Regions from separate parts of the Homo sapiens genome. Here region 2 is linked to region 1. The links are contacts of gene promoters, found by promoter capture Hi-C in blood cells and fetal thymus (Javierre and others, 2016). All regions are on one chromosome and are shown on one strand. The core of a region is centred on a gene start or on the middle of the fragment in contact, and the rest is flanking DNA. Distances in the headings are between cores, read along the strand shown.

Region 1 (3,989 bases), core at 278-2,777:
CTGGATGACAGAGCTAAACTCAGTCTCAAAAAAAACACAAAACAAAAAACAAAAACAAACAAAAAAAAAAGATCTTCTAAAAGAAAGAAAGAAGAACTATTCTTTTTTTTTTTTTTTGGAGATGATGTCTGATGTCTCACTCTGTCACCCAGGCTGGAGTGCAGTGGCTTGATCTCGGCTCACTAAAACCTCCGCTTCCCGAGTAGCTGGGATTACAGGCCTGTGCCGCCACACCTGGCTAATTTTTGTATTTTTAGTAGGGATGGAGTTTCGCCATGGTAGCCAAGCTGGTCTGGAACTCCTGACCTCAGGTGATCCGCCCACCTCGGCCTCCAAAGTGCTGAAATTACAGGCGTGAGAGCCACCGCACCTGGCCCGACGAGCTTTTTTTTTTTTTTTGGAGACACAGTCTCGCTCTGTCACCCAGGCTGGAGTACAGTGGCGTGATCTCGGCTCACTACAACCTCTGCCTCCCTGGTTCAAGCAATTCTCCTGCCTCAGCCTCCCGAGTAGCTAGGACTACAGGCATACGCCGCCATGCCCAGCTAATTTTTTGTATTTTTAGTAGAGACGAGGTTTCACCGTGTTGCCCAGGCTGGCCTCGAACTCCTGAGCTCAGGCAATCCAGGTGCCTCGGCCTCCCAAAGTGCTAGGATTACAGGCGTGAGCCACCGCGCCCGGCCACGAATAGCACTGTACTATGCCTGAGACACAGCTAAGTGCTTTATATGGATTACTTCACTATATTCTCAATAATAAGATATTATTATGTATTTCGTCTATTTCACAGGCAAGGAAATCAAACCTCAGAGGCTAAATGTTCCATGACTTCTCCAAGATCATGAAGTAAGCACTGAGTAAGTAGGGAGGGGGAGCAAGGACTCAACCCCTTGCTCCTAATCTTTACTCTATACCGCATTCAGGAGCCGCCAGCTGTATGGGGAACAAGGCCTGGATCCCACCCCAAAGACATGGATTGGAGACCCACCCCTTGGTGACCCTAGACCCGCCAATAGATCGTTGTGAAGCTGCAGTTTCCCTATCTGTAAAATGGGAGCATTTAGTCCACCAGCGCGAAAGGCACGGAGGGAGTTTCCCTATTATATGACCGTACACGAAATCTAGACTGTGACCAAAGTCTCCCGCTCCTCAGCCTCCTCTCCTCCGCATCCTCAGCCACTAGTCACGCTGGAGAGGAGGCGTGGGAACTGACCTCCGCGGGCCGGGCCTCGGCAACGCGCATCCTCCCACCCGGCCTAGCCCAGCCCAGATCGGGGAGGGGGTGCGCGGGGGGAGGAGGTCAGGGGTCACTGAACTTGGGTCACGTGGTCAGCCAAGGGGGCGGGCCCTCGCGGTGCGGGCTCCAAGACTGGTGAGTAAGCAGTCGGCGTCGGGAATGGGGAGTCCTTGGACCAGAGCAAGGCCTGCTCACCTGAAGACCCCGGCGTGGCGAAGGCTGCTACCGAGACGACGGCGGCGGGGGCGGTGGCGGCGGCGCCCACTCACGAGCTCACACTCATTCCCTCTCCCGGGGCCCCGGCCCCGCCCTCCCCAATACAGCCAGTCGGCGGGCGCCTTGGAAAGTTTCCGGCCCTCCAGGAGGCTTCCTGGCTCTTGATTGGCCAGTGTGAACAGACTGTAGAGACCGGCGGTCACGTGACGCTGAAGATTCCCGCTTCTTAAAGCAACCTCTCTTGCTACGTTTGCGAGTAGGTGTGTATTGTTTTAACACACGTTTAATAAGCATATTTTATTTTTTTTACCACCACAATAGTAACGAGGAAATAAACAGTCTCAAAGACAGCGTCTTGATTTTCTTTGTCTTGTTTGCTCGCGAGTTTCTGAGCACCCGCATTTTCGCGACTGCAGCAAAGCTTTAGATTTTGGTGTCTGGCTTAGTTTTCCTGCCCGGCCTACCTCCCCAACATCACATGCCACTTCCCCTTCCTGAAGGGATAGATGGGGCTCTCGGTAGGTGTTCTCGGCAGGCAGAAGGGACTTCTGACCCGGCCGAACATCCCGTGCAAGCTCCGGACTCCAGGGTTCTGCTCTTTCTGCACCTACTTCGCATTCTCCCCACGCCTGTGAACCAAATACAAGCCCTGGCCTACCTCGCCTTGCATGACCGTTGGACACGCACACTGACAGCTCTCTTTCTCCAACTCCCACTGCAATAGCAGCTACTTGGGCAGTTCTTAATTGATAAGCAGTGGGCTTAGTGAGTAAAGGATGGTATTTGGAATCAGACCGACCTGGGTTAAAATTCTGACACTGCCTTTGGGCAAATTACCTAATATGGAGTAATAATGCGCACTTCACAGGGTTGTTGTAAATTAATGTCTGTGAGAGTCCCTGGCAGAGTTGGAGGTTAAACTTCTTTCCCGGCCGGGCGCGGTGGCTCACGCCTGTAATCCCAACATTTTGAGAGGCCGAGGCGGGGGATCACCTGGGGTCGGGAGTTCAAGACCAGCCTGATCAACATGGAGAAAAATCCATCTCAACTAAAAATACAAAATTAGCCGGGTGTGTTGGCACATGCCTGTAATCGCAGCTACTCGGGAGGCTGAGGCAGGAGAATTGCTTGAACCCGGGAGGCGGAGGTTGTGGTGAGCCGAGATCGCGCCACTGCACTCCAACCTGGCCAACAAGAGTGAATCTCCGTCTCAAAAAAAAAAGAGAGAAACTTTCTTTCCCTCACATGTCACAAGGCATACAGTGAATTCCTTTAAGTTCACCCAAGATGGGGTAGTTTGCACTGAGTGAACTGTGGGAACATTCTGCAAGGGAGCATGAATGTACACATTTTTTCTCTTTCCCCCTCTCAGGGTTAGATGCTGCTGCCGCTGGAAAAGAAAATCCCCTGGGACCCGAGCTGGCAAAGCCAGATGGATGCGACTGTGGTTGCCATGGCAACCCCACCTAAGGAGAATGTGACCCTGCTGAGTCTCTTCCACTCATATTCAGAACCATATTAGAAGTGGTTTCAAGTGTCTGCCCACCTGTGCGTTAAGGGAAAGAGAGAGGGCGCTCTCCTCTAAGGTCTGACTGAGCCTGAAGTCAGCTTAGCCAGACCTGGGCAGCTGGCTGACCTCCTTGCTTAGGTTTACTGTTCTGGACAGCCATCAGCAACCTTGGAGACACTAGAAGATGGGAGGGAGACCGGGACTGCCCGGGACCTATTAGATGTAGTGAACCTGTATCCAACCTGTCTGGAGCTCATTTGCTCCCAATCTGAGTGGAGGCAGGAACCAGGGAAGGCAGTAGTGAGACCTCCATGGCCACAGATGGGAGAAAGGTGGCTCGCTCCACACACCCAATGCCTGGCAAGAACTATGATGGCTTTGGTGTCAGACTTTTTTTCTTTTTTCCTTTTTTTGAGACGGAGTAACACCCTGTTGCCCAGGCTGGAGTGCAGTGGCGCAATCTTGGCTCACTACAACCTCCACCTCCCAGGTTCAAATGATTCTCCTGCCTCAACCTCCCAAGTAGCTGGGATTACAGGCACTTGCCACTACCACCAGCTAATTTTTGTGTTTTTAGTAGAGACAGGGTTTTCACCATGTTGGCTAGGCTGGTCTCCAACTCCTGACCTTGTGATCCACCCGCCTCTGCCTCCCAAAGTGCTGGGATTACAGGCATGAGCCACTGTGCCTGGTCAAAGTCAGACTGTTTTTATTCATTTATTTTTATTTTTATTTATTTTTTGAAACTGAGTCTCGCTCTGTCGCCCAGGTTGGAGTGCAGTGGCGTGATAGCTCACTGCAACCTCTGCCCTCCCAGTTTCAAGTGATTCTCCTGCCTTAGCCTCTGGAGGAGCTGGGATTACAGGTGTCCGACACCATGCCTGGCTAAGTGCTGTAAGTTTTGTATTTTTAGTAAAGATGGGGTTTCGCCATGTTGGCCAGGCTGGTCTTCAACTCCTGACCTTGTGATCCGCCCGCCTCAGCTTCCCGAAGTGCTGGGATTACAGGCATGAGCCACCATGCCCG
Region 2 (3,771 bases), core at 967-3,466, 220 kb after region 1:
GTGGTGGACACAGCATACCAAGTGTGGAGGGGCAGGGAGAGCGAGGCATCTAAAGGCTTCCTGCACCCGTAGCTTGGTAAGGGTAGCTTGGTAAGGAGCGTGGAAGTGGAGCCAGCCCTGGGGCCAGGGTCAGATGTAGCGATCCAAGTCCTGGGGCGGGCACAGGGCACGGAGTGTAACAGAGGCGGGACTTCGAGTGACAGGAACCTCAACTATGTGGTGACTCAGGCTCTGGGCAGCCTAGGCCCTTCCTTCCCTGCTCAGCCTGATCTCCTTCAACTGGACTTAGGGAACTGTAAGCAGAGGAGAGAGGGAAACCCAGGCTGGTCTCTCTTTCCCCAGGAAGCTGGGGGAAAGGCAGAGGAAGTTGGAAAGGACAGGAGAAAAGCAGATTCCAAGAAAGGGGTGAGGAGGTGGTGTTCCCCGCTTCCTCAGCCCCTCCCTCCCTGCTCCCCACTGGGGAGGGGAGCTGGCTGGGGCGTTGGCTGCTCCGTTTACTCCAACTCCCTCCCTCGGCTCCTGTTTACAACTCAGCCCGCCCAGTCCTTAGCTCAGTGCTGAGCTCTTCTGTTTTCTCTCTCTCCCTCCCTCCTTCCTTCACAGCCTCATGTCTTGTCGCTTCTTTTCCTTAATCTCAGGTCTGCATCTCCTCTTATTGCCCCACAGCATTCCCACACCCCTAACTCTGCCTGAAATCCAGCCATGACCCATCGTGTCCACCTGCCCCACTCTCCCTGCCCAATTTCTTTCCCTTCCACCTGCCTGGACAGTCTTTCTTTGCCTTCTTTCCTCCCAGACGGTACTCTGGAGACAGCCTCATGTCTCTTGTTCTCTAACCAGCTTTAACTTGGGTTCTGGTTGGGCTTGAAGATTTCATTAGGACTGAGTGTAATTGGAGAGTTTCTGTGTATCAAAGCTCTCTGATCTAAGAAATTCAGGAACTCCTTATTTGAAGCTTGAAGTTTAAATACAGGCTGGGATTTGAATTGAGCTGGGGAAGGATGATTTTACTTGGCTTTATATTTTCGGCTAGGGTTAAGGGTTTGGGGCTTGAGAATTGCTTAGGAAATAATGTTTGGATTCCAGAATCACCAGATAGATTTGCTTTTGGGGGGTGGGGTGGACAATGACAGATTAGGAAGTGACGGAAGTGAATGGAGAAGGGCCTGTTTGGCAGGGATGCTAATCCCTGGGCTGGTGTGTGTATGGGGTGGAGGCGGGGTCTGGGAGATCCCAGATGGTGCTAAGAAGGGTTAACAGTCATTTCTTTGCTGCTGCTGCTGCTTTTTTTTTTTTTTTTTTTGAGACAGAGTTTTGCTCTTCTTGCCCATGCTGGAGTGCAATGGCGCAATCTCGGCTCACTGTAACCTCCGCCTCTCAGGTTCAAGCAATTCTTCTGCCTCAGCCTCCCGAGTAGCTGGGATTACAGGCGTGCACCACCACGTCCGGCTAATTTTGTATTTTTTGTAGAGACGGGGTTTCACCAGGTTGGTCAGGCTGGTCTCGAGCTGCTGACCTCAAGTGATCCACCCGCCTTGGCCTCCCAAAGTGCTGGGATTACAGGCGTGAGCCACCAGGCACAGCCCATTTTTCTGCTTCTAAGAATATCATGCAAAAGAACCTTCATGGGGGGAAAAGTCTGCTTCTAAAGAGACTGCAAACAGACCACACACTTCATTTGCCTTCTGGGATCAGAAACTGAGATTACCCTTTGAGCAGTCAACCTCTTTTCTTCCTTGTAACATGCTGATTTCAGAAAAGGGGACTGTGGAGAGAAGGGAGGGGAAGGGGAATCCCCTGGCCAGGGGCCTGCCCACAGAGCTCCCCTTTGTGGTTACTATGGAAACAGGCATAATAGGAACAAAATAGAGGCAGGTTGCCTGGCAACAGAAGAGCCCAAGGTTCATTACAGACGCGCGCACACACACACAAACTGACATATACACACACACGCAAAACAGGTACATATCAGGGAACCTCCCCCACTCCCCAGGGAGGCAGTGTCACTTCTGGGGAAGCTGGGGTATCCCTGTGATGACAAGTCCTAGAGCTCATCCAGCTTTGGCAGTGCGTGTGGAGCACTGTGGTACCAGCTCCCTCTGAATGGTGGTGGAGCACTAGCGGCAGGGCTGACCTCCCTCTTATAAGAGGAAAGCCTTTACTTTATATCACAGAGGAGTCTAAACCTTCGAGAAGATGGAGGTTTTCTTTGCAAAGTAGGGACCGAAAGAACTCCTTAATACTCCTTATAAAACATGGTGTGTAAAAACAAACAAAAAACAGGCCAGGTGTGGTGGCTCACGCTTGTAATCCCAGCACTTTGGGAGGCTGAGGCAAGCGGATCATGAGGTCAGGAGTTCGAGACCAGCCTGGCTAGCATGGTGAAACTCCGTCTCTACTAAAAATACAAAAATTAGCCAGGCGTGGTGGCGCGTGCCTATAATCCCAGCTACTTGGGAGGCTGAGGCAGGAGAATCGTTTGAACCCAGGAGGCAGAGGTTGCAGTGAGCCAAGATGAGCCAAGATCGTGTCACTGCACTCCAGCCTGGGCGACAGAGCTAGACTCCATCTCAAAACAACCACCACCACCACCACCACAACAACAAAACAACAAAAACACCCAAAACATAGTGTGTCGGGGGGGTGCTGGCGGGGGAGTAGCTGTGTAAATTACCTGGTAGGAAAGATAACTCCAATTCTCTGGAGGCATAGGACCTCCAAGGAATTCAAAGGACAAGGTAAAGGGGTATCGGAGCCGTTTCCGCCTGGACTGAGCTTTTTGCTGGGATTCCATCTTGCCAAGGTCTCTATTGCTTCCACCACCACCACAGTTCCCCAACCCCATATTGGACACACAATAAATGTTTGGGTAGCTGCAAGAAAGACCCACAAGTAGAGGAATTGCTCCCTGGGGGCTGAGAGCCAGAGGAAGTTGTGACAGCCTGGGATGCAGGATGCTATCTATTGTAGAAAAGGCAAGGGCTTTGGAGCCAGTTATACCTGGAGTTCATTCATTCATTTGAAACATGCTCTTGAGTGATTGCTATGTGTCAGTCAGTGCTCTAGGCATGAGGGGCCAGGGTGCGGTGGCTCACACCTATAATCCCAGCACTTTGGGAGGCTGAGGTGGGAGGATTGCTCAAGCCCAGGAGTTCAAGACCAGCCTGGGCAACATAGTGAGACCCTATCTCTACCAAAAAAAAAAAAAAAAATTAGCTGAGCATGATGGTGTGTGTCTGTAGTCCCAGCTACTTGGGAGACTAAGGTGGGAGGATCACTTGAGCTTGAGAGGTTGAGGCTGCAGTGAGCCATGAATGCTCCACTGCACTCCATCCTGGGCGACAGAGTGAGACTGTCTCAAAAAAAAACAAGCAAAAAACCAAAACAAAACAAAAAATCAGTTAATCTAGGCACAAAGCATACAGCAGAGAAGAAAGAACCCTGTCCTCATGAGGCTTAAATGCTAGCGGAAGCTTTGACTCTTGCCTCTGTGAGTTGTGTGATTTTAGGTAAATCACGAACCCTTTCTGAGACCATTCCTCACTAAGTGCCTCCCTCCCAGGGTGTGCAAGGATTAAATGAGCTGACAGATGAAAGTAGCTCCTGACAAAGTGGCTCACACCTGTAATCCCAGCGCTTTGGGAGGCTGAAGTGGGCAGGGATCACCTGAGGTCAGGAGTTCGAGACCACCCTGGCCAACATGGTGAAACCCCATCTCTACTAAAAAATACAAAAATTAGCCAGGCATGGTGGCACACGACTGTAGTCCAG

What was found. The method cuts DNA at HindIII sites, captures the fragments that hold promoters and counts their contacts. A CHiCAGO score of 5 or more calls a contact.
Region 2: a contact is called between a fragment that was not itself captured here and the fragment with the promoter of TAF6L in region 1, in 1 of 17 cell types (activated CD4 T cells). The highest score is 5.4, in activated CD4 T cells.

What each region holds. Positions count from the first base shown.
Region 1 is chr11:62,768,934-62,772,922 of GRCh38, reverse strand. It overlaps TAF6L (TATA-box binding protein associated factor 6 like), which reads right to left and starts at 1,527. Exons shown (of 11, transcript NM_006473.4): 1 at 1,433-1,527. It also overlaps a transcript of TMEM223 not described here. RefSeq lists enhancers at 938-1,077, 3,240-3,289 and a silencer at 1,268-1,677. The HindIII fragment of the contact is 6,431 bases long and covers 1-1,876 here.
Region 2 is chr11:62,550,051-62,553,821 of GRCh38, reverse strand. No RefSeq gene overlaps it. Among named protein-coding and RNA genes, the nearest start is that of AHNAK, 5.1 kb to the right of the region's middle. RefSeq lists a silencer at 112-161 and enhancers at 1,040-1,845, 1,846-2,651. The HindIII fragment of the contact is 2,518 bases long and covers 958-3,475 here.